Linked DNA regions of Homo sapiens: regions 1, 2, 3, 4, 5 and 7 are each linked to region 6. The links are contacts of gene promoters, found by promoter capture Hi-C in blood cells and fetal thymus (Javierre and others, 2016). All regions are on one chromosome and are shown on one strand. Each heading gives the region's core, a stretch centred on a gene start or on the middle of the fragment in contact. The rest is flanking DNA. Distances are from core to core; before and after follow the strand shown. Region 1 has its middle 26 kb from the start of OR9A2. Region 2 has its middle 6.4 kb from the start of TRPV6. Region 3 overlaps TRPV5 (transient receptor potential cation channel subfamily V member 5). Region 4 has its middle 9.5 kb from the start of OR9A2. Region 5 holds the start of TRPV5 (transient receptor potential cation channel subfamily V member 5). Region 6 holds the start of FAM131B (family with sequence similarity 131 member B). Region 7 overlaps EPHB6 (EPH receptor B6).

Region 1 (3,031 bases), core at 240-2,739, 360 kb after region 6:
GAAAAAAATAACCAATCAAATCTTCCATCTTCTGGCTAACTTCAGATTTGCCAGAAGAGGTCAGCAAAGACATTAACATCAGTCTTTGCCCTCCCTCGAGGCAGGATGGTGGGTTAGAAAGTGCTTTCTGCCACTTTGCTTAGAATTTATGCAGGGCTTCCATTATCCATACCCCTATCTTTTTTAGGCCCTCTTTCCAGAGTTTAACAGCTGCCTGAGCTCCTGGTGAGAGGATGGACCAATCTAAAATAAATAATAACACACATACCCTTTGTCTTATGTAATGACAGATCTTCAATTTAAATTTATGTACTGCATCTCTATGTAAACTAATTAAAATTTCTGGCATGTTAGCCTATGCAATTAGACAAGAGAAAAAAAATGCAGGGCCAAGATGTTAAAAAGGAGGAGAAAAAAAGATTAACATGAATTTTAAATAATTTGTTTATCTGGAAATCTCAACAAAATAAAGTAAAAAACCAATGTGGCTGGGCACAAAATTTATATTGAGAGTCAAAAGACTTCACATATAAAACACATTAAGTTAGAAAATATAATGGAAGGAAAGAACCTCATTTACAAAAGCAAAAGCAAAGAAATATAACATTATTAGGAATAAGCTTAACAAGTAAAGATTTACATTTAAACTAGATTGACATTTAAAAAAATGCTCCTGAAAGACACAAAAGTAGATTTGAGCAAATGGAAAGGTGGAGTAAACAATACAAAGATATCAATTCTCCTCTAAGTGTATCCATAAAAATGATACAATCACAATTTAAAAATCAATAGTATTTTTTAAATCTAGAGAAGCAGATTACATTTTATTCATGCATTATTTCATTCATTTATATTTTTAGAGACAGAGTCTTGCTCTGTCAGCCAGGCTGGAGTGTAGTGGCATGATCATAGCTCACTACAGACTTGAACTGCTGGACTCAAGTGATCCTCCCACCTCAGCCGCCTGAATAGCTGGGATTACACATGTGAGCCATCGTGCCCAGCTTAGATTAAACTTTTTATTATGGAAAAATAAACAAGCAAAAAATTTTCAAAAACATTCTGAAATAGAAGCATAATGAGGAATAACTACATCTGTAAAACAGACTATATAGCTATAATGTAAACAGTACTATCATTGGGAAAAAATGAATTATTCAATAAATGGTCAAACAAACTAGCAGCTACCTAAAAAACAAAAGTTAATTCCATTACTGCCTATGTCATACCAGGCTGTTTAAAATGGGTCAAATATTTAAATGTAAAAAAAAAACATAGATTTAACATAAGAAATAAAAGAATGTTTATAAAAATGGGTAAGACCTTTCTTAGGATGACTTAAAACACAGATGTCATAGAAGATTGACTTTATGAAGAATTTTTTAAAAATTTGCTATGGTTAATACTACCCCAAGGTAAACAGACACACGAAAACACCAGAAAACAATTTCAACTCATATCACAAAAGGTTAGTTTGCATCATGTGTAAAAAGCTCCTATAAGAAAAAAATAAAACTACTCAGCAGAAAAATGGGCAAAAGATAAGCACATGTGAGAATATTTTCATCTTCATTCATAAGGAGAACAATAAAAATTAAAGCCATATTAAGATACTATTTTCAGTTATTAAACTGGCAAATGTCAAAAAGTTTTATAGTACACTGCGTGAAAATAGGTAGTGTAAAATGTAATAGCCTGCATGAAGGGCAATTATGTAATATATATTAAAGTGACAAATGCTTTTACGCTTTGGCCTAGCAATTCCTCTTCTAGAAATTGTCATTTAGATATTGTGTACAGGGAAATAATGTATGTATTCCATTTGGTGGAATAATCTGGAGTTATTAAAAAAGGAAACAAGAACCAAGAATGTCTTATGTATAAATATACAATGATCTGTACTGCATAGGACATATGTTCGATATACTACCATTTGTACAAAAAGAAAATGTGCTTGTATGCATTTGCTTATGCAGACGTATATGCTTAAAATTACCTCTGTAAAGACACAGAAGAAAGTGATAACATTGGTTGCCTTGAGGGAGGAGGATCAGATAGAAAAGTGTTTCAAAGTATCCTTTAAAATTTTGAACCATGGAAGTATATTATGCTTTGATGCTTTAATATTTGAATATAGTTATATCTTCTTTTGATATTCTGGCACTTTTAAAAACATCTGTATTTGGGGTACTATATGATCCTGATTCTCTAAGTGTTATAATTAACATATATATCTTATTAATCCAAAACTCAACTATGTAGTCTTTCTAGAACATAGCTAGGAATCAGAAAATAGCAAAATAAACCAGCAAGCAGACAAAATAAATGTTACAAAGTCCATGAACCACATAAAGCTTAGCCACTTTACTCACAGGAAGTCTGTTAGAGTCCCTTTTATCTGTTTGTTTATTTATTGGAAATAAGCTTGATAAAATGATTTACTCATAGAAAGGAGATAAGAAAAGACAGGTCTACTGAAAACAACAAGCAGTGTGTTAGCTCTCAATCAAGAGACATGTTGAGAGAAATTAAAAACCAACTGTACAAAGCTGACCAAAGGACTTAAGACATTTTTGTTCATTTAGTGCAGGAGCAAACCTTCTCTGAGATCATGTATATATGACAGTGGCATCCTAATGATCGTCTTGAGAAACCAAGAAGACATTCAGGTATGCTCAATAGAATCTATTAAGACTGATTTTCATGCCTAACATTTAAATAAAATATAAAAACTTTTGATGATTAAGTCTAAAACTTAGAGTCTCTGGAAAATGGAATAACACATTTCAGGTTGGTGGTGTTTTGGAGTATATTTTTAAATGCTTAACTGAAGATATCACCAAATGCCAGAGTAATTGGTCAGAGATTTCTTTTTCTATTGAACACAAATGAAAACATCAGTATCAAAAATTGGCAGTAGATATGCAAAAAGGGAGTCAGGAAAATTATTCTTGTACAAGAAAACAACTTTATAAGAGCTCAGGAGAAACTTCTAACTTTTCTACAGTGGAATGACTCCAACAATCACAGT
Region 2 (3,338 bases), core at 78-2,577, 470 kb after region 6:
TTTTAGCCGGGATGGTCTCGATCTCCTGACCTCGTGATCCGCCCGCCTCGGCCTCCCAAAGTGCTGGGATTACAGGCGTGAGCCACCGCGCCCGGCCGTCTGTACATGTTAAACCATCCTCCACTCTTAACCAAGTCTGGCATTTTGCTTTTTTTTTTTTTTTAAGGAGGTGGTGGGGTGTTTGGGTGACTGCTTGCCTTAAATAGAATTCAATAGAGTTCTTCTCACTGTCTGCCCTTTCACTGAGTTTGTTGGTTGAAGAGAGAAGAATAAGAAGTGCAGGTGGGGACAACCAGGGGAAGATTGGCAATCAAATGCCACCCCTGCAGGCCTGCTGCCCAGAAGGCTATGGTGAGCAGACTGCATGCTTCTGGAAAAGAATTCTGCTTTGGGTTTGAATTTTTAACAGCCATGATGGGCTTTGGGATAAAGGCTTGTTCCTGTCTTCTGAGCCCCAAATAATGCTGTTTACTCTGGGCTTAGTGGCCCCCACATACCCTCCTTTCCCCACTCTCTGGCTAAGAGGCAACAGCCAGGTTCTCATGGAGTGAAAACTGTTGGTGACCTAGAGTCCAGAGTCTGGGGACACTGCCCTGGATTGGGGAGCCAGCCCACTCCCGCCTTGTCAGAGGGAACACGCACGTTGTCCCCTCCATATCTGTGGCTTTCCAGAGCTCCAAGAATCACCATGGTTCAGGAGCTTCATCCTCTCTTCAGCCAGAGCTACTTGGACCACAGAATCCTGTCATTCGGAAGGTCAGAGGAGAATCAGAGGCTTTGTGTCTTCATGTTCTGCCTGCGGCCTGCTCTCTCCTTCCTGTGTAACTCAGAGACAAAGACAGTCAGGCTTAACCTGAGAGATGAGCCCTTTCTGACACAATGAAGCTTTGAGCTCCATCCTGCCTATAGCTGGAAGCTGAGGGGGGCTACCTGGGATAGCAGAGAATGGAAAAGGGAACAGGGGCACTCAATATCTGGAGTCCTTATTTTTGTAGATCAGGAAATGAAAATGTAAGTGACTTGGCCAAGGACACCAAGTGATTTCTGGTCAGCTGGGGTTAGAATGCAGCTGTCTTTATTACAGATCAATTGCTCTTTCCATTTTACTTCTCCCAGAAAGCCGATCCGCTGCAAGGCACACTTAGCCTACTTGTAAAGCTTCCCAAAGGGCTGCAGCCTCTCTTCTTGTTTGTCTTTTGTGCCTGCAAGAGAAGAGATGGGGCCAGGTATGGTAGAGTGAAGAGGATTGGGGTCCAGTTCTCACAGGGAGGAGAACTTGGGGTCTCATGAGGAAGAGAGAAAAAGATGAGGGGCAGAAAAAAGAGGCTTGGGGGAAACTTGGCCAGAAGGACCAGAGGCTGGGCCCAGGGCAAGACTGAAGAGCTTGGCATCCTCCTGCGGGTACCAGATGTCAGGGGACCCATGCAGGGGGCAGGGGGATTCTAGCTGCAGCTGGGCAGAGCAGGTGGGGCATATGGGCTTCCTCCAAAGCTTCAGGCCTCCTCTCACAAACCCAAGAGGGTCAGTACCCATTCTCCCCAGATCAGCACTCAGCCCTTCCCCTGACATCTTCTGGCTGGGGAACTCAAACTCATTGAGAGGGTGATGGAGGGGCTGTAAACTACATGAGCACTCCCAAGGTTGGACCCACCTTCCACTGAGGAGGGGAGTGGGAGAGGAGAGGGGTGAGAACTGGCAGACAGTGGGGAGAAATGGAGAAGAGGGGACGGTGGCCATACAGATGCCCACGTATGCCCTTTGGGTGCATTCTACACAGGGGTAGGGGCCCAGGAGGACTGAATGCCTGTGGGTCTTGAAATCTATAGACTGCTGGGAAGATGCTGGAAAACAGGCACCTGCGTGCACACACACACAATTGCTCTGGAACATCACTGTCATGTATTGATTCATTTTGACACAAAATACACCATGCATACATTTATGTCAAATAACGTGCACATGCATATCTAGATGGTAAAACTGGCTGCATGGTGTGGCTGCTCATCACCTCTGCCTCCCTGTGCCCTATTTTCATCTCCAACTCAGCCCTTCAACCACCCTGCTCTTGGATCTTGCCCCCAGATCTTGCTAAGGAAGCGTGTGGAGTGTGAAGCTCCTTGGGCGCGGAGGCTCCGTGGGGCCAAGGACTGGGAGGTAGGAAATGAGGGCTTGAAGCCCCAGGGATGGAGCTACAACGAGTGATTGGGATGAGAAAAGGGATCCGGGACTAAAGTCACTTTCTAGGGAAAGGTGCATGGCAGTTCTGCAATAAATTAGACCTCTTGACCTATGAAAGTTGAAGTGACTTCGTGTGCATTGGGACCGTGGGTGAAGCATATTTCTTCAGATGCGCTGGATGTTTGAGTACAAAAGGACATTGGAGAGTTTCAGAACAAAGTGCTTCCCAGGGAACTGCAGAGCCAGCGCGACAGTCAGATACCTCCAGTCAGGCACCGCAGCAGCGTACCGCGCCCCCATCCCTGGGGTGGGAGGTGTAGGGGGTAGGGTGTGTGTGTGTGTGTGTGTGTGTGTGCGGTGTCTGTAGTGTGTGTGCATGATGTGTGTGGTATATGGTGTGTGTGCAATGTGTGTGGTGTGTGACGCATGTGTGTGTGGTGTGTGTGTGGTATGTAGTATGTGCGGTATGTGGTGTGTGTGTGGTAGGTGTGTGCTGCATGTGTGTGCTTTGTGTGGGGGTTGCATGGTGTCTGCTGTGCATGTGTGTGTGGTGGTTGTGTGTGTGTGGTATGTAAGTGGTGTGTATGTGTGGTATGGGTGGTGTGTGCTGCCTGTGTGTGTGCTGCATGTGGGTGTGGTGTGTGTGGGCTGTGTAGTATGTGGTGTGCATGTGTGTGTGGTGGTTGTGTGTGTGTGTGTGGTATGGGGTGTATGTGTGTATGTTGATGTGTGTATATGTGGTGTGTACATGTGCATGTGTGTGTGTCTGCATGTGTGTGTGTCTGCATGTGTGTGTGTCTGCAGGTGTGTGTGTGCGTGTGCATGTGTATGTGTCTGCAGATGTGTGTGTGTCTGCAGGGGTGTGTGTGCCTGTGCATGTGTGTGTCTGCAGGTGTGTGCGTGTGCAGGTGTGTGTGTCTGCAGGTGTGTGTGTGCGCGCAGGTGTGTGTGTGTCTGTAGGTGTGTGTGTCTGCAGGTGTGTGTGTGTCTGTAGGTGTGTGTGTCTGCAGGTGTGTGTGTGCATGTGTGTGTCTGCAGGTGTGTGTGCGTGTGTGTGTCTGCAGGTGTGTGTGTGTCTGCAGGTGTGTGTGCGTCTGCAGGTGTGTGTGCAGGCATGTGTGTCTGCAGGTGTGTGTCTGTGTGTGTCTTCAGGTGTGTGT
Region 3 (3,287 bases), core at 587-3,086, 450 kb after region 6:
GGCCTGGAACGTAAAGCCATGTGTTCAGGGCCAATAAGATTTATGTTCACTAACTGCCTTGCAAGATCTTTAAAGGAGAGACAGGAAAAGACTTTTGGTGAGAACAGGGCATTAAACAGGAAAGACTGGCCAGTCATGGATCTCAGAAAACCATGTGGACAAACAGAGATAGTGCCATGCTTAACTCTCCTATGTTTACAATTCAGAAGAGGAAACCTAAAGCACTCAACAACATATAACTTGCTTTTTTTCTATATGTGGTCATTTAAAGCTGAGAAAAATATGAAAGAATTAGAAAAAGGAGGTGCAGAAAAACAGCTTGGACAGTTTGAAGATGACAGAGAAAACAAAAAAGAAGAGTTGTGAAGAGAGACTGGGAGAACAGGAACACACAGGCACCCAGTCAAGGCACAGCCAGTGAAAGTGCCAGGGAGCAAAAGAAAGGAACGGCACAGCAGGAAAACACAGGCAGGTGGAAACAGCCAGAGGGAAGGAGAGGGTGGGTGGAGGAGCAGAAGAAAGTCCTTAGGGAGGGGCAGAAAGAGGAAGGCCCAGGTCTGAAAAGCAAAAGGCCAGTAGCTCAAATTCAGTCCTCAGTGTCTGCAACTGACCATCTATTAGACAAGAAGAGGCACTAGAAGGATCCCCCCATCTCTAAAAAGCAATGACTCAGTGCAGAGGACTCTATTACTGTCCTCAGGGATTTCCCGTTCAATGGGGATTCCCACAAAACAACAGACCAAAACAAAAAACAAACAAAACAAAACAACAACAACAAAACCCCCACCAAAATCTGAAATGTGAAAGAGTAAAACCATGGCGTTCTGCCTGTTTGGAGTTTTCCACCCCAAGCCCTTATGTACCCTTTCCTCCCACTCCCTGGCCATCTACATCTATACATAACACAGATTACAAAATGAGGTGATGGTCCCAGAGTGGCTTTCTGTAGATGTCCTCTATCCAGAACTCTCTAAATGTTCACTTCTTGGCCATTGCACTTGCTTTTCTCTTAAATAAATAAGGAGGCAATGCTTTGTCATAGACCCTGTTTCTGCTCTCAGAATGTGCTTCAGCTCCCTATGCAGTGAGGAGGCTTTCAAGCAGTCCAGCGCTGTCCTGAAGTTCCCTTACGCTCACTGCTATCCAGTAGGCTCCACCCTAAGCAGGAATCCGTTTCCTATGTTGGTTCAGGTTCACTCAGGGAAGGTCAGAGTGATGGAGGGTTATCTAGAGGCCATCAAGATTAAAAAAGGGGCTCTTCTTTTAGCCTGTTCATGTGTTCTGTTCTTTAAAAATTGTTGAGGATTCCATACATTCTTGTAATAACTTGCCTTTTAAGTATTTGGTTTTCTAAAATGCAAAAACCAGTTAGGTGACCTATTATCCATTATCCATACAAACACACACGCTGCACACACAATTTTGTTGTTGTTAAATGACTATTACCATGACCATTACCCAGAGTGGTGAACTTAATCATAGGACATCTTAGGGTTAGACAGTTCCACAGGAAACTACATTTATTAGTATGTAATTATCTGTGCATGTGTGCAAGTGTATTTAGATAGATAGATAGATAGATAGATAGATAGATAGATAGATAGATCAGAGATAGAATAAGTGCTAACCATGTCCATGCTTATTGTGATAACTCCATTATCCCATCTCCATGTCCTCTTCCTGGGCGGAGCAGCGTTCTATATCATTTTCCAGACAGAGGACCCAACCAGTCTGGGGCAATTCTATGACTACCCCATGGCACTGTTCACCACCTTTGAGCTTTTTCTCACTGTTATTGATGCACCTGCCAACTACGACGTGGACTTGCCCTTCATGTTCAGCATTGTCAACTTCGCCTTCACCATCATTGCCACACTGCTCATGCTCAACTTGTTCATCGCCATGATGGGCGACACCCACTGGAGGGTGGCCCAGGAGAGGGATGAGCTCTGGAGGGCCCAGGTGAGTTTATTTGTGTTAGTCTTGCTAAGAAGCAGGGGTTGGAGAGAAAAATCAAAGTGGAAAATGTTATGGTGGATCATTCTTAAAAGAGTCACAGAAAAACCCAGTGAGGCTGTCACCTCAGAAGAGGTTTGTGTAAACCTGAGGTACATGTGGATAAATGGAAGGGACAGAAGGAGGATTAAATGGACGATAGTGGCAAGAGGTGGGGTTGTTGCTCACAGGGGAAAAGTAGACCTAGGATTGATCCTTGAGTCCAGTGGGAACTAGAAGTGACCTTGTTCTGGTATATTCCAGTTTTCAATTTGGATCTTATCTTCTATTTGCTTCTGTAAATCCCTGTTTCTCTATGATCTTTTCTTTATATCACCATAGACTGATAAATATTAGAATTAGAAGTGACCCTCAATGGCCCTCAAGTTGACCTCCTACTTAACATAATAATCATTTATTGGTCAGAATGTCATTCAATATCTTCTCTAATGCTGATTAGTACCTTATTATCTTGCAAATTCAGGTAGAGGTTGGGAGGAAGGGAGTTTTCCCATATTTTTAAAGATTTTGTTATTAGACATTTATGTCGCATTGAGCTAAAACCTATCTTCTTAAAATTTCATTCTTTGGCGCCAGTCTTTCCCTCTCATATATCACAGAACACATTCTTCCATATAAGCACCATTCAAATATTTGAATATAGCCATCATTTTTCCCTTAGACTTTTCATTCATTTAATGATGATCATTTAGACCCTGCTATGTGTTGACAAATGCCTAGGAGCTAGGGACATGAGCATAAACACAACAGACACCATATGTGCCCTCATGGAGCTGACGGTTTAGTTGGAAAGACGGGCATGAAGTGAATGACTTCACAAAAAGCTGTAAAATTACAGCAGCAAAAGTGCTATAGAGAATGTAAGGTGCTAAGAGGAGGATACAACAGAGGAATCGGACTGGGAAGTGAAGACATGCTTTCCTGAGGGAGCAACATTTAAGATGAGAACCCAAAGGTGAGCAAGAACTAGGTAGTTAAAAGGAAGGAGGGAAAAGGATGAAGGTCAAGGTTAGTAGCAATTAGGACTCTTGGCTACAGGGACAGAAAACCAAACTCAAACAGACTTGCAGATTTTTAAACAGGGGGAAGAGGATGTGTTAGTCCTCATAAATGGGAAGTTTAGAGAATTAAACTAACTTTAGAGGTATCTGGCCAGAATGCAGATCCACATCTTATACATTACATCCATTCCTCTGTTCGGCTCTCTTTTGACCTCTCTTCTAAGGCAAGCTCTCCCATCGTGTTTGTGAGATCATTTCTAGAAGCTCCAA
Region 4 (2,901 bases), core at 244-2,743, 350 kb after region 6:
TTTGCATATCTTGTAATTTTTTGTTGAAAACTACACATTTTAGATATTATATTGTATCACTATGGATACTGTTATCTCACTTCCAGGGGATTATTATTGTAATTTGGTTATCAATTTGTTTATAGTCATGCACTATATAACAATATATCAGTCAATGATGGACTGCATGTAAGATGGTGGTTCTATAAGATTATAATGGAGCTGAACAACTCCTATCACCTAATGACATGGTAGCTGTTGTAACATCATAGCACATCACGTTTCTCATGTGTTTGTGGTGATGTTGGTATAAACAAACAAGCATACCATGCTGTGGTTGTATAAAAGTATAGCACATAGAGTTAGAAGTATAGCACAGTACATAATACTTGGCAATAATACTAATTTTACTAATTTATGTATTTACTATACTATGCTTTTTATCATTATTTTAAAATATACTCATTCTACTTACAAAAAAGGTGTTAACTATAAAACAGTCCCAGACAGATCCTTCAAGAGGTTATGCCAGAAGAAGGCACTGTTATCATAGGAAATGACAGCTCTATGCTTTTTATTGCCACTGACTACTTTCCATTGGGACAAGATGTGGAGGTAGAAGACAGTGACACTGATGATCATGACCATTTGTAGGCCTAGGCTAATGTGTGTGTTTGTGTCTTCGTTTTTCTTTTTTAAGTTTAAAAAGTAAAAAATAAATTAAGAATAGAAAAAAGCTTATAAAATAAGGATCTAAAGAAAGAAAGTATTTTTGTACAGCTGTAAAATGTGTTTGTGTTTTAAGCTAAGTGTTATTATAAAAGAGTCCAAAAGTTAAAAAAAGTTTATAGAGTAAAAAAGTTACAATATGCTGAGGTTTATTTATTATTTCAGAAAGAAACTGTAGTGTTGTTTAAGTGCACAGTGTTTATGAAGTCTACAGCAGGCAGTGTACAGCAATGCCCCAGGTCAACACATTTACCTATCATTTCTCACTGACTCACCCAGAACAGCTTCTAGTCCTGCACGCTCTGTTTATGGTAAGTGTACTATTTTTTATCTTTTATACTGTATTTTTAACATATATTTTCTATGTTGAGATACAGAAATGCTTGCCACTGTCACAATTGCCTAGAGTATTCAGTATAGTAATATGCTGTACAGGTTTGTAGCCTAAGAGCACTAGGCTATACCATCTAGCCTGTACCATCTAGGTTTGTTGAAGTACATTTCATGATTTTCATACAATGACAAAATCACTAAACAATGCATTTCTCAAAATGTATTCCCGCCATTAAGTGATACATGACTATTTCCCTGGCTGTGTGTACTCTCTAGCATTGCTCTTAGAGGGTGCAGTCTTGGTTATGTATGCAGATCCTGAAGTAATAGTGATTTTAATAGGGATTCTTTGACTGTCACACTGATCACACACAATTGTTAGGCTCCACTAATTGCCAGCTGATGGTCCTATTATTTTTGATAATGCCTGGGTTGTAAATTGTTCCATAGTCTGATACAATTAAGTTTGGATTCCTTTATAGCAGTGGCTTTGAGGTCAGATTTCTTAGCTCTCTCTTTCTCAGGGTCTCCCAGTTAATCTATCTGGTCTATAATTTATTTCTTACCTCTCATGAATGTATCAGCCTTCTTCTTTGCCTTCCACTAAAACCTTCATTGTTTTTGAGAGTTTCGTTGGACTTGAACTTTCCTACCCTCTCTTTCAAACAAAGTGAATTCTTTCAGAGCTTTCTGTTTTATGGCCTGGCTCTTCCCCTGAGCAAAATATCTGAGCCATAGCTCTTGAGCTGGGGGTGAGGATGGTGGTGCAGCTCTCACTAAGTGACAACTCTGCTTTAGTTTCAGGGTGGCAGACAGGGGTAGCAGCTTTGCACTTCCTGCTTTGCCTTTTCTGGTGTAGAGCTTCTACTCTGTGAGTGAGGATGAGTGGGATCCTAGCATCCTCAGCATGCTTCTCTCGAGCCAGGTCCCCTGCCCTATGAGTGAGGACTGGGTAATAGCAGGAAGTCTCTGACCTCTCGTCTTTCCTCTCCTGGAAATTAATTTCTGCAATGTGTACATGGAAAAGAGAGGGATGAGCAATGCTTGGCTACCTACCCCTTCTGGGAAGATACCAGAGCCCTTGACTGGGAGCTGATAGTAAAGAAGCCCAGTGCTCTTGGCTGCACGTGCCTGGAGTGGATTTCCTATCGTAATGAGCTGGGAGGTGGGAGGAAGGTAGTGGGTTGTAGTTCAAATATCATAGACTCTCACTCTTCTGACCAAGCTTTGATAGATTTTCTTAAGTAAATGTTTTCTTTGTTTGCTGTATGCTCTCAGTACAATTTCCAGAGACTTGAAGTGCTTTTCTTAAATGCTTTTTTTCACCAATTATGCTTGTTTAACTGGCCTGGCAGTCTGCAGAGCTTCCTTGTCAATCATAGTTGTGTTAAAGCTACTCACCGATCATTCCAATGTCTGGATCAGCTCTGCATTGAGTTCCATTGTTTTTTACTCTTGAAAATGGATTGTTTTTCAGCTGTTCTACATACAATTTACAGCCTTTTTTAAAAAAATTTGAGACAAGGAAACAATTCATTCTCAAGAGAAAAAAACAACAGAACTCAATGCAGAGCTGATCCAGACATTGTAACTATTGGTGAGCAGATTTAAAGCAACTATGATTGACAGGGAAGCTCTGCAGACTGTCTGGCCAGATAAACAAGGATAATTGTGAAAACAGTTATTTAAGAAAAACACTTAAAATCTGGACATGAACAAACCTCTTCTTCGGTTGAGCTTGAAGTCTGAGGGGTTCAGTTAATCTGGTTGGGAGGTCGAGATGTTTGGTGGTCTTTAGTGAACCATATGCTACACATTCCTTTAGTCATGCATTGCTGTTATCTTGGGCTCAGGGTATTT
Region 5 (3,279 bases), core at 756-3,255, 430 kb after region 6:
AATGTTCTCTTTCTCTCTGTCTCTCAAAATATGTTATAGTACTGTACTCACCTATTTTCCAACTGTGGCTGACCTTAGGTAACTGAACCATCAGAGAGTGAAACTGTGGATAAGGGAAACTACTTAATATATAAAATATAATATAAAATATATAAAATAGTGCAACATTACTTATTCCTCCTGGTGTTTCATTCCTGGAAAGAGTCCCAAACATGGAATCACGATTTATTTGTCGTCTACCTTTGCTCAGTTTCTGCTGTTCAACCTCCATAATAACTCGAGGCCCCTGGGGGCTCCTCTGACCTGCGTCCCCAGGTACCAGAGCCTGCTCGGCGACGCTCCAGGAAGCTGGCCGGTCACGGTCATGAGGACTTCTCACAGAGAGGGATTGGCCTGGGAAGTGGGGGTCAGAAACCCTCCTTTGAGGTACAGGGTTGAGGACAGAGATGACCACAAGACACATAAATGGGAAGCTCTGAGAAGCAGCCCGGGGGTCTCTTGAGCCCTCTTGTGGAAGGAGGATCGGCAGTGATTGAGTACTTGTGACACATGCTTTACAGATGCTCCCGTGAGACGGCATAGCCGTTACCCCAATTTCACAGGTTAGGAACTGAGGCTCAGAAAGCTCACCTAACTGTAAGGGATAAGAGTCAGGATTTGAACCAGGCTCTGCCTGACTCTTGAGCTGGAAGTCTTTATTTCCTCCTCTCCCTCATGCAACTAACTGTGCACCTTGTTTGTGGACCCACCTTCCATCCCTTTTCTTTTTCCAAATTCCTCTGCCCCACCTCTTAGCTTCTCGGGTCTCAGCCATCCCAGCCCACAGTTAGGAACCTTCCTTCCCCTCCTCCTTTTCTTCCCCAGGGTGGTTCTGTGGCTGTGGGGCTCAGCTCTGCAAAGAGCTCCTCCCCCTCCAGGAAAAGCACTTCTCCCCAGGCAGGGCGGTCAGTCCCCTCAGCGCACCTGCATGCACACACACCACCTCACAACCACACACTGCATGCACACACATACACCACAGCCACACACTGTGCATACACGCACACCCCACAACCCACATACTGCATGCACACACACACACCTACAAGCTGCATGCTGCATACACAAGTCATACAGGAGATAAACTCAGAGTCCCAGCCCCAAATAGACCCCATCTCTTGCTCAGTTGCTGTCATCCTAGACCTGTTTCTTTCGCCACATTTCTATAATCTGCCAGTGTCTGCAAGGAGAAGACATGGGGGGTTTTCTACCTAAGGCAGAAGGGCCCGGGAGCCAACTCCAGAAACTTCTGCCCTCCTTTCTGGTCAGAGAACAAGACTGGGACCAGCACCTGGACAAGCTTCATATGCTGCAGCAGAAGAGGTAGGCTTCCTAGAACGATCCGTGGCCCTACCGCCGTGATCCTCAGACCCTCTGACCCACCTGGGCCTGCTTTCCGAATACAGCACCCTAGAAGTGTATTGTCAGTGCCAGTCACTCAGACATACCCTTTCCTTCCAGCCCACCTAATTACAGAATCCCAGCTGGCCCCTTTTAGTGGCGGTGGAGGATGTGGCTTTGGGCCACACAGGAAAATCTTGAGGGTAGACCTAAGGACAGAGGCAGAATGACAGCCAAGGGGGAGTGAAAGGACCAAAAAGGACCAGAGGGAAGAAGCCAGGTTGTGTGGGATGGGGAGGGAAGGCAGAAGCAGGCTGCTGAAGAAGGGATGCACTCCTGTGGGTGGTGGAAGCACGATAAGGAAACGCCATTCATTTGAATGAAAGTGGACTGTGTGGGAAAGGGGAGGAGCGCTTTGTTTGGTGTAACACTGGGTGCTGACCAGTGGAGGAGGGCAGCTCAGGTGACACTGGAGGGCTCTGAGTTCAGTCCATCTGCCTTTTATTGAGTCTACTGTGTGCAGAGGGGTGTTAGATCCCAATGACATAAAGATTGAATGAGACTTGTGCCTGCTCCTGGAGAGCTCTTAGTTCGGGCAGGGCTAGCACACCTGCAGGTAAATCATTTCATGGCTTAGCCCTGAGGTCCAGTCCCAGGAAGAGCAGCTGGGGCAGGGACGAATCCTGTGGGCTGCTTCTTCCTCCAAGTGTTTTGGGGCTTGCCTCCCACCCAACAGCTGCCTGAGGGGTGAGGTTGTTGAGCAGACATTAGCAGTCACAAAGGGCTCCCCTGTACTCCAGAAGATTCCTGTGCTTTGTTCAATGCCCTGCTGTCCTCATCTTCAAGTTCTTAATAATTTTGAACAAGGGGTCCTGCATTTGCAGTTTACACTGGGCCTGGTCCCAAGTACCTCTGAGCCCTCATACTGTCAAGCCCTCTGCTTCCTCATCTCCCCACCCAATACCTCCAGTGGAATCTCACCTTCCTGCTTTAGAGTGGGACCCCTGGGTCTCTGAGAAAGTGAGCTTCCAGCCCCAACTTGGACCCTCTGCAGAGGGGCAGTGGGGATAGAGGGCCAGGGAGGCAAGGACTTTGTTTGTGCAGTGGCCTCAGGATGGGGGTGAATTTGCAATCTCAGCCCTGACCACTCTAGGCTGGTCAGGGACACCAGGCTCCCTGGGACTGATTCCCTGGGTGAGACGGGGCAGGGAACTGACTCCTCACAAAGGCCCCTCCTAGGAGCACTGCCTTAACAGGTAAAACCAGGCCCCACCTTTAGATTAAAAGCTTCTTCTTTAAATGAAAACACTTTGGCTGGGCGTGGTGGCTCACACCTGTAATCCCAGCACTTTGGGAGGCCGAGATGGGTGGATCACCTGAGGTCAGGAGTTCGAGAGCAGCCTGGCCAACATGCTGAAACCCCGTCTCTACCAAAAATAAAAAAACTAGTCAGGCATGGTGGTGGGCACCTGTAGTCCCAGCTACTCGGGAGGCTGAGGCAGGAGAATCACTTGAACCCAGGAGGCGGAAGTTGCAGTGAGCCGAGATCGCACCACTGCACTCCAGTCTGGGCAATAGAGTGAGACTTCGTCTCAAAAAAAATAAATAAATAAAATAAAAACACTTTTTCGCCCTGGCTCCTGGGGCTATTGGAAGAGAGGGATTTGGAGGTGGGGACCTCAGAGGAGCCACTCATCGGCCTGTCCTTTCTGTTCTTCCCCCTACACCATGTGCTTGCCTTTGGGGCCAATACACATATGTCTAGTTGGAGAGGCTCCAGCTTTATCTCTTTCTGGGTTCAAATCTGGGTATGGTAGAAGCAAAGATTAACAGAGGTCCTGTAGAATGAGTATCTCAACCTGTTTTGCCTTGAGACACCCACATAAACAAGCTGTTTAG
Region 6 (3,285 bases), core at 580-3,079:
AGACCAAGGGGAGAGGTTTGCATCCAAGTTGGAACCACAGTAAGAGATACGTAGTCATATATAAATATATGTATTACTCAGGGAGAGCCATAAGGAGACAGAAGTTTCAGGTGGGAAGGCAAGAGCATAATGGCCACGTGGTCTGTTCCTCCTTACCTGGCCAGTCCCCTGTCAGCGTTTTCTCTGCTCAAACAATAGGGGTGTGTGGGCATTGCTAGAATAATGGAAGCTGTTTGTTCTTTTTTTTTTTTTTAATCATCTCTCCATCTTCTTTCCTTTGCGACTGGACAGTATATTCCATGAAAGCAGAAACTATTTGATACTTCTTTTATATAACCAATAATAGTAGATATGAAAAAAGAAAATGCTTTCTAATTCTCTCCACTATTGAAATAGGGTATCAGACCCTGCCACGAACTACACTAAACGATTAAAATCTAAGCAGACCTGCAACTGATTATTATCTCATTCCTTCCCGCGGTTTTATAGATGTAGATTTGGCTTATTTCTTCATGCACATACACCGAAGATGGATTCTGTCACCATAATCTCATCTCCTCAATCTGCAATTCAGTTGTTAGTGTCTTCTTCTTGCACATCTTCATCTGCCACCCCATGGGATGTAGCTCTCCATTCATAATCTAAAGGTTAGAAAGTTGCATCCATAAGACTTAGCCTCCCTGTTAGGAGCCCACACCAGGGACCCCTGGCCCATTGCCTTCTCTCTCTGCAACCTCGGAGAGACCTAAAAGTGGGCGAGGTGCAGTCAGAGCCTGGATGGGCACTTGCTTCTGTGAATGCCCACCTGCCCACTCTCTCACACTTTGGGCTTTCTGGGTACACCTTAGACAAAAGGGTCTCCTTGCCCTTTCTCATGCATCTTTTCTGGACTCCACTTCTTACCTGCTGTAACCACAGTGCTCATTTAACCCTTGCAACTTAGACCTTCATCTCCTCCCCATGGGGCTTGAGGTATCTACCTGGCCCAGTCCCACTAGCCAGAGGCCAATCTTTCTCTCTCTTTGCTGCTTCGGGACCGCCTTGCTTTCATTTGTCCGAGAAGATCACGTCTCAGAAAAGTTAAACTGGATTCAAGACGATGTCTCCTAGCCAGCCTCGGGTCCTGACATTGTTGTTAGTCTACTGCGAATGAACTGTCCTCCTCATATTCTCCAATCCCCAACCAGGCCTGGAGGTCAACTATCTGCACATCCCCACACCCACCCCTGAATGTCCAGCGAGCACAGAGAAGTGGACTACACGATTCACTTGCAAAGACTTCACCTTCTGTTTGGATGGACAAAATAGCGCACTCGAAACAACAGAGCCCAAAGCTGTGTCCAATCACGTTCCTGTGTGTGTCCCAGATGCGGCCCCAGGAGGAAAACAAGTGTTTGCGGAATTTGGTGGCCAAAGGCCCTTGGGCCTGGCTTTATTCTCACCACCACCCCACTTTCTCTCAGGGCATCCCCTGACCCCGGCCCGCAAAATCCATCAACCAGAACCTCGGGGTAGGCCCTGGGTTCGTGCCTCGGCTCCTGAAACCCAAGCCGGGGTTCTCCAGGAGAGAGCCCCGGGAGCGGGGCTTGGCACGGGCGGGAGGAGGGGGGCGGCGACGGCGGCCCCAGATCCCCGAGGGAGCGCCCCGGCACGGCCGGAGCAGGGGCGGGGAGGCGCGGGGCGCAGCCAATCCCCGGGCCGCCCCCTCCCCGGCCGCGGCGAGCCGAGCCGGGGCGGGGGAGCCAGGCGGCGGCGGCGGCGGCGGCGGCGGCGGCGACGGAGCTGCCGTGGGGAGGGATGGAGAGGGGAGGGGGGAGCGGAGCCGAGCGGAGACAGCCGCGGCGCTGCAGAGCGGCTGGGGCGGCGGCGCGGCTCCCGGTGCTCCCCCCGGCGCGCGCCCCGAGTCGGTGAGGGCCCGGCTCTGCGGCCCCCGGAGCCATGGGCTGCATCGGCTCCCGGACTGTGGGTGGGTACCGCGGCCGGGCGGGGGCAGGGCTGGGCCCCCCGGGCCGCCCTCCGACCCCCTCCCCCATCCCTCTCCTCGCGCCTCCGGGCGCCCCGCTCCGCACCCGCCTTGCCCTGCTAGCTCCTTCACTTTCCTTCCGTCCGCCCGCGGTCCCTCTGTCCCTCCTTCCTGCCCGCTCTCGTCTTGCGCCTCCGGGGCTGCCATCCCGCTCGGCTCGCTTCCTTCTCCCCGTCGCCCTCCCGCAGGCGCGGTCCTCTCCATCCTCTCCATCGCCCTCCTCTCCTCTGCCTCTCGGCCCGACGCTCGGTCCCCTCATCCCTGCCCCTCCAGGCCATCCGCCTCTGCTCCGCCGTCCCCAGCGCCTCCTCGCATCCCCCACTCCGGAGCAGCCCCCCGCGAAGGACCCTCGGCCTCCGCGCCAGCCCCGAGTTTCTTTCGCACGCCCCCCACGCCACCCCCCGCCGCCGCCTCCATCTGGCTCGGGTGCTTTGCCCCATCTCTCTCTCCCTCTCCGTTGCCTTTTACTGTCGTTCCTGCCTCCTCCGATTCGCTTTGTTCACGTGCGTTTTCCCTCTGGGGCGGGGGCGGGATGAGCCCGGGTTCCACGCCCGGAGGGACAGGGCCAGGGCCGGGTGGAGGGAAGGGGCTGGGGGACGCGGGGAGGAGATGGGGGCTTCGAGGCGCTGGGAGGGGTCGGGAGCCCGCGGCCCGGGAGGGTGGGGCCGGCCCTGCCTCGGCGGCCGGGGACCCGCCTGCACCTGTCAGCGGGGGCCGGCGGGGCGGGGCCGGCTCTTTATTTACCTTTGACGCGGGGAGGGAAGAGAGGCGCCTCCTAATCCATCTTCTCCCTCCAGCTTCTGCCTGGCTACCGCCCCTGACCCCCACCCAGGCACCCACTCCACTCTCGCCGCTCAGCGAATTCATCCGGCCCTCTCCCACCCCCTCCCCCATTCTTCCCCTTTCCAACTCCCAATTTCTCCCGCCTACACCTCCCGGTGACCTCAGGCTGAGAGAATAATTCGTATTATTATTACAAACAAACTCACTCTCCAGAAGCCTGATTTCCCTGAGACCCGGTTTATTTCCATGGATACCCCCTCCTCCTCTGCTTTCACCCCTTCTCCGCGGCTCTCTCCCTCCCCGCTGCCCCCCACAGCTCTGACTCAGCTCTCCGTCTCTCACAAAGGCCACCTCCCGCTCCCCTCTCCCCCCGCACCCCGCCCTCCCCTGTCTCCCTTCTCCTCAGGCTCTTCTCCACCTGCCCCATTCCTGCTGTGTCCGGAGGGCCATCTTTCCTCTTTTCCCCCAGTCACCACCCC
Region 7 (3,043 bases), core at 444-2,943, 500 kb after region 6:
ATGGAAGAGCATCCAAAACCTGTGAAAAAGGCAAAGGAAGTGGACTGAGACCCAGTGCAAGGGAGACTTAACTTTCATTGTATTCTCATTAATTGTATCCATTTAAATTTTTGCATTCTTAAACTCTTGCATGTGTATTCTTTCAACTAAATCATTGATTAAAATTTTCTTTAAAACTATAGGATAATAACTGTTTAGTAAAGTTAATCAAAACAGTGTTCATATCCTCATAATGGCTTCTCAGAACTATGTAGTAAGCTACCTCTTATATAAAACCTTCCTGTGCCTTCAGAAGGTACACCACTAAGCTCACGAGCAAATGAACAGAAGGAATAGCTACCTCCAGTGTCACAATGAAGACAAACAGGCTTGGCACCTCCTTTGCTTGTTGATTTAGAGATTGGCGGTTCTCTATCTCTCCTCGTGTCTGAGTCTCAGAAGTCTGTGAATTGGGTGGACTATAATCCCTTTATTTCTGTGAAGAAAAAAAAGAGACATGTTGCCCAGATTGCTCAAAAGACATAGAACTGAGAGGAAAACAAAAAAAAAGCCAATTAGAAGAGAAGTTGTGATTTGTTTTTCCTGGATATATATGGCCTTGGGATTGTTGAAAGCTATCATAAAACAAAAATCAAACTATGAAACTTTAATTGCAACAAATATGAAAATCATAATTTGATTCCTACTAATTTTTTTCTGGCACTGCGGGCTGTGCTGTCCATGAAGTTATCATGGAAATACACCATTTCTACATACGCGTGGGCTGATGTAGAGTGGGCACCTGCCAACTAGCCCCTGAAACTCACCTTTTATACATCTTTAACCCTATTTGTGAAATAGAGAGTTCAATTTACAGCCTATGGAGACAAGTAAGGAGCATTTCCATATGGCAAATTGCTCTTAAGTAATGTTCTTTGCAAAAATGTCTGAAATGTTACTAGGATCCTTCACAGATGAAATAAATGCTTTGGAGAGGAACGGGGAGATCATGAAGTAAAAAGCAGGCATAGCTATTAAATTCTGTAACCTTGGCACCGTCACCAGTGGCTGTTTAATAAATATCCTAAAGTAATTCATGTTGTAAGTGCATCCCCTCCAAACTCTCAATGGCTTAATTTGGAGACGTGCTTGACACACTGAAGCAAACCAGAGTCACGGAGTCCTTAGAAATACTGTTATCAGGGAAAGAAAATGCCAGCAGCAGGTTTTTAAACAATGAAGGCTATTTTACCATTTGCCTAGAAGTTATTCTTTAAAATAGTCTCTTTCTTTCACTCAGAACATGGATGGATTCTGTAATCTGTACAAAGAAGAAACAGTAAGCCCTGTGTCTTCTCAAGCTTACAACTAGGCAAATAATCATGAAGAAGGAACAATAAATATTTTGGAAATATTTCAATGAATTATTTTGAAAGACAGCCAAGCAAGATAGAAAAGATGCGCTGCAGATAGTATCAGCTGTCCAATATGGAACACTCTGGAAGATGAATAGCAAGATATTTGCTTTGATGACCCGAACTACAAGGAACACAGTCACTTGTGGTTGCAATAGGGCGTGCTTGCATAGCCTTAGCATGCCTCGTAATGACAACACGAAGCTGGCCTCCCTCCAGAAGATCCAGAAAAGAGCAAAAGCAATTATGAAACATGGATGTTAAGGCCACTCAGCTTCTGCCATCAAGAAACAGCATAAAGAAAAGAAGAAAATGGAGACACTGCCTGTGGATGACCACTTCAGCAATTTTTTGAAATTTTACTAAGAACAAAGATATTCATTAAAAAGAAATGGTTGAGGATCTTAAAGTACCCAGAAGGATACTTCTAATGTTTGATGAGGACCTCTTTTAGATTCAGATCCAGATGACTGAAGGTTATAAATACATTTTTTCAGAAAAAAAAAATTGTTGCTGAGTCAGACTAGGAAGTTAGGTGAGTTCTTACTTATCAAACAAACCAGATAAATTCAAGACTTTTAATTTTAATATATAAAAAGAATATGGGTGTACCCCTGTTGCAGGAATCCAAATAAAGAAAAAGGAAGCTTTATTAAGATATGGAATAAATTGCTGTCAGCAAATTCATACCACTGCAGATTCTTTTGAAGCCAATTTCAAAGGCAGAAACATAAGTGACAAGAACACGGCTGCTCCACATGCCTGGAATGCTAAGTAAGCAGGACTCAGAACTTGATTTTTCAAAGGTGTCTTCAATGGTTGTGGGCATGGAGCATCTTCTGCATTTGGTCCAGGAGAGCATCCCAGGGACAGGCCAGTACATTTCTCCTGCCACAGAGATGGGAAGCAGCCTCTGCAAAGCCAGGCCCCTTGCTCCTCTCTCACAGCCTGCTTGAGAGTCCTCTCTCCTCTGACTTACAAAAGGAACTGGTCAGTATTTAGAAATTCTCTAACACAAGAATGTGCAAAAGAACTTATCTCCTTTAGAAAAATATTCACATTTCAGATGTGTATAAGGTTTTAAAAATATAAAACCAGAAGCAGCAGAAATGTGAACATAAAACAATGGTGGAGAAAACGAGACGGATTAGACAAAGTTTTAGGTAACAAAAATTGCAGTCTATGACTTTATAATATGTTCTCAGCTTCTTTTATAGATATATCACTTAATATCTTTTTGATACAGTAGAGACAATAGATCCACAAGCCTGCTACATCTCTTTGGTTTACAAAAATAAGACTGTTTCTTAGGTATCAAGGTTGTGTTTTGTTTTCAGAAACTGGCAAAAAGTAAAGATTTGTAGAATCATAGGTTACAAAGCATAGCTTACGAGTTATGTTGCTATAAAAATGAAATATTTCACTTTGGGAGGCCAAGGTGGGCGGATCACAAGATCAGGAGATCGAGACCGTCCTGGCTAACACGGTGAAACCCCGTTTCTACTAAAAATACAAAAAAAAAAAAAAAAATTAGCTGGGCGTGGTGGCGTGTGCCTGTAGTCCCAGCTGCTGGGGAGGCTGAGGCAGGAGAATGGCGTGAACCCGGGAGGCAGAGCTTGCAGTGAGCCGAGATCGTGCCACTGCACTCC

What was found. The method cuts DNA at HindIII sites, captures the fragments that hold promoters and counts their contacts. A CHiCAGO score of 5 or more calls a contact.
Region 1: a contact is called between a fragment that was not itself captured here and the fragment with the promoter of FAM131B in region 6, in 6 of 17 cell types (neutrophils, monocytes, M0 macrophages and 3 more). The highest score is 9.7, in neutrophils.
Region 2: a fragment that was not itself captured here is called in contact with the fragment with the promoter of FAM131B in region 6 in 1 of 17 cell types (neutrophils); the score reaches 5.2 in neutrophils.
Region 3: a fragment that was not itself captured here is called in contact with the fragment with the promoter of FAM131B in region 6 in 1 of 17 cell types (neutrophils); the score reaches 7.8 in neutrophils.
Region 4: a fragment that was not itself captured here is called in contact with the fragment with the promoter of FAM131B in region 6 in 1 of 17 cell types (neutrophils); the score reaches 5.9 in neutrophils.
Region 5: a contact is called between a fragment that was not itself captured here and the fragment with the promoter of FAM131B in region 6, in 1 of 17 cell types (neutrophils). The highest score is 6.8, in neutrophils.
Region 7: a contact is called between a fragment that was not itself captured here and the fragment with the promoter of FAM131B in region 6, in 7 of 17 cell types (M0 macrophages, neutrophils, activated CD4 T cells and 4 more). The highest score is 7.6, in M0 macrophages.

What each region holds. Positions count from the first base shown.
Region 1 is chr7:142,999,335-143,002,365 of GRCh38, reverse strand. No RefSeq gene overlaps it. Among named protein-coding and RNA genes, the nearest start is that of OR9A2, 26 kb to the left of the region's middle. The HindIII fragment of the contact is 1,734 bases long and covers 623-2,356 here.
Region 2 is chr7:142,890,444-142,893,781 of GRCh38, reverse strand. No RefSeq gene overlaps it. Among named protein-coding and RNA genes, the nearest start is that of TRPV6, 6.4 kb to the right of the region's middle. The HindIII fragment of the contact is 333 bases long and covers 1,161-1,493 here.
Region 3 is chr7:142,911,157-142,914,443 of GRCh38, reverse strand. It overlaps TRPV5 (transient receptor potential cation channel subfamily V member 5), which reads left to right. Exons shown (of 15, transcript NM_019841.7): 13 at 1,694-1,962. Among named protein-coding and RNA genes, the nearest start is that of TRPV5, 21 kb to the left of the region's middle. The HindIII fragment of the contact is 4,505 bases long and covers 1-3,287 here.
Region 4 is chr7:143,016,206-143,019,106 of GRCh38, reverse strand. No RefSeq gene overlaps it. Among named protein-coding and RNA genes, the nearest start is that of OR9A2, 9.5 kb to the left of the region's middle. The HindIII fragment of the contact is 1,550 bases long and covers 719-2,268 here.
Region 5 is chr7:142,931,415-142,934,693 of GRCh38, reverse strand. TRPV5 (transient receptor potential cation channel subfamily V member 5) reads left to right here and starts at 948. Exons shown (of 15, transcript NM_019841.7): 1 at 948-1,362. The coding sequence starts at 1,235. The HindIII fragment of the contact is 1,328 bases long and covers 1,342-2,669 here.
Region 6 is chr7:143,361,257-143,364,541 of GRCh38, reverse strand. FAM131B (family with sequence similarity 131 member B) reads left to right here and starts at 1,829. Exons shown (of 7, transcript NM_001031690.3): 1 at 1,829-1,966. The coding sequence starts at 1,939. It overlaps FAM131B-AS1 (FAM131B antisense RNA 1), which reads right to left and starts at 2,836. Exons shown (of 3, transcript NR_183342.1): 1 at 2,485-2,836; 2 at 1,285-1,352; 3 at 277-641. The HindIII fragment of the contact is 5,612 bases long and covers 1-3,285 here.
Region 7 is chr7:142,858,484-142,861,526 of GRCh38, reverse strand. It overlaps EPHB6 (EPH receptor B6), which reads right to left. Exons shown (of 20, transcript NM_004445.6): 2 at 341-475. Among named protein-coding and RNA genes, the nearest start is that of EPHB6, 4.9 kb to the right of the region's middle. The HindIII fragment of the contact is 701 bases long and covers 1,343-2,043 here.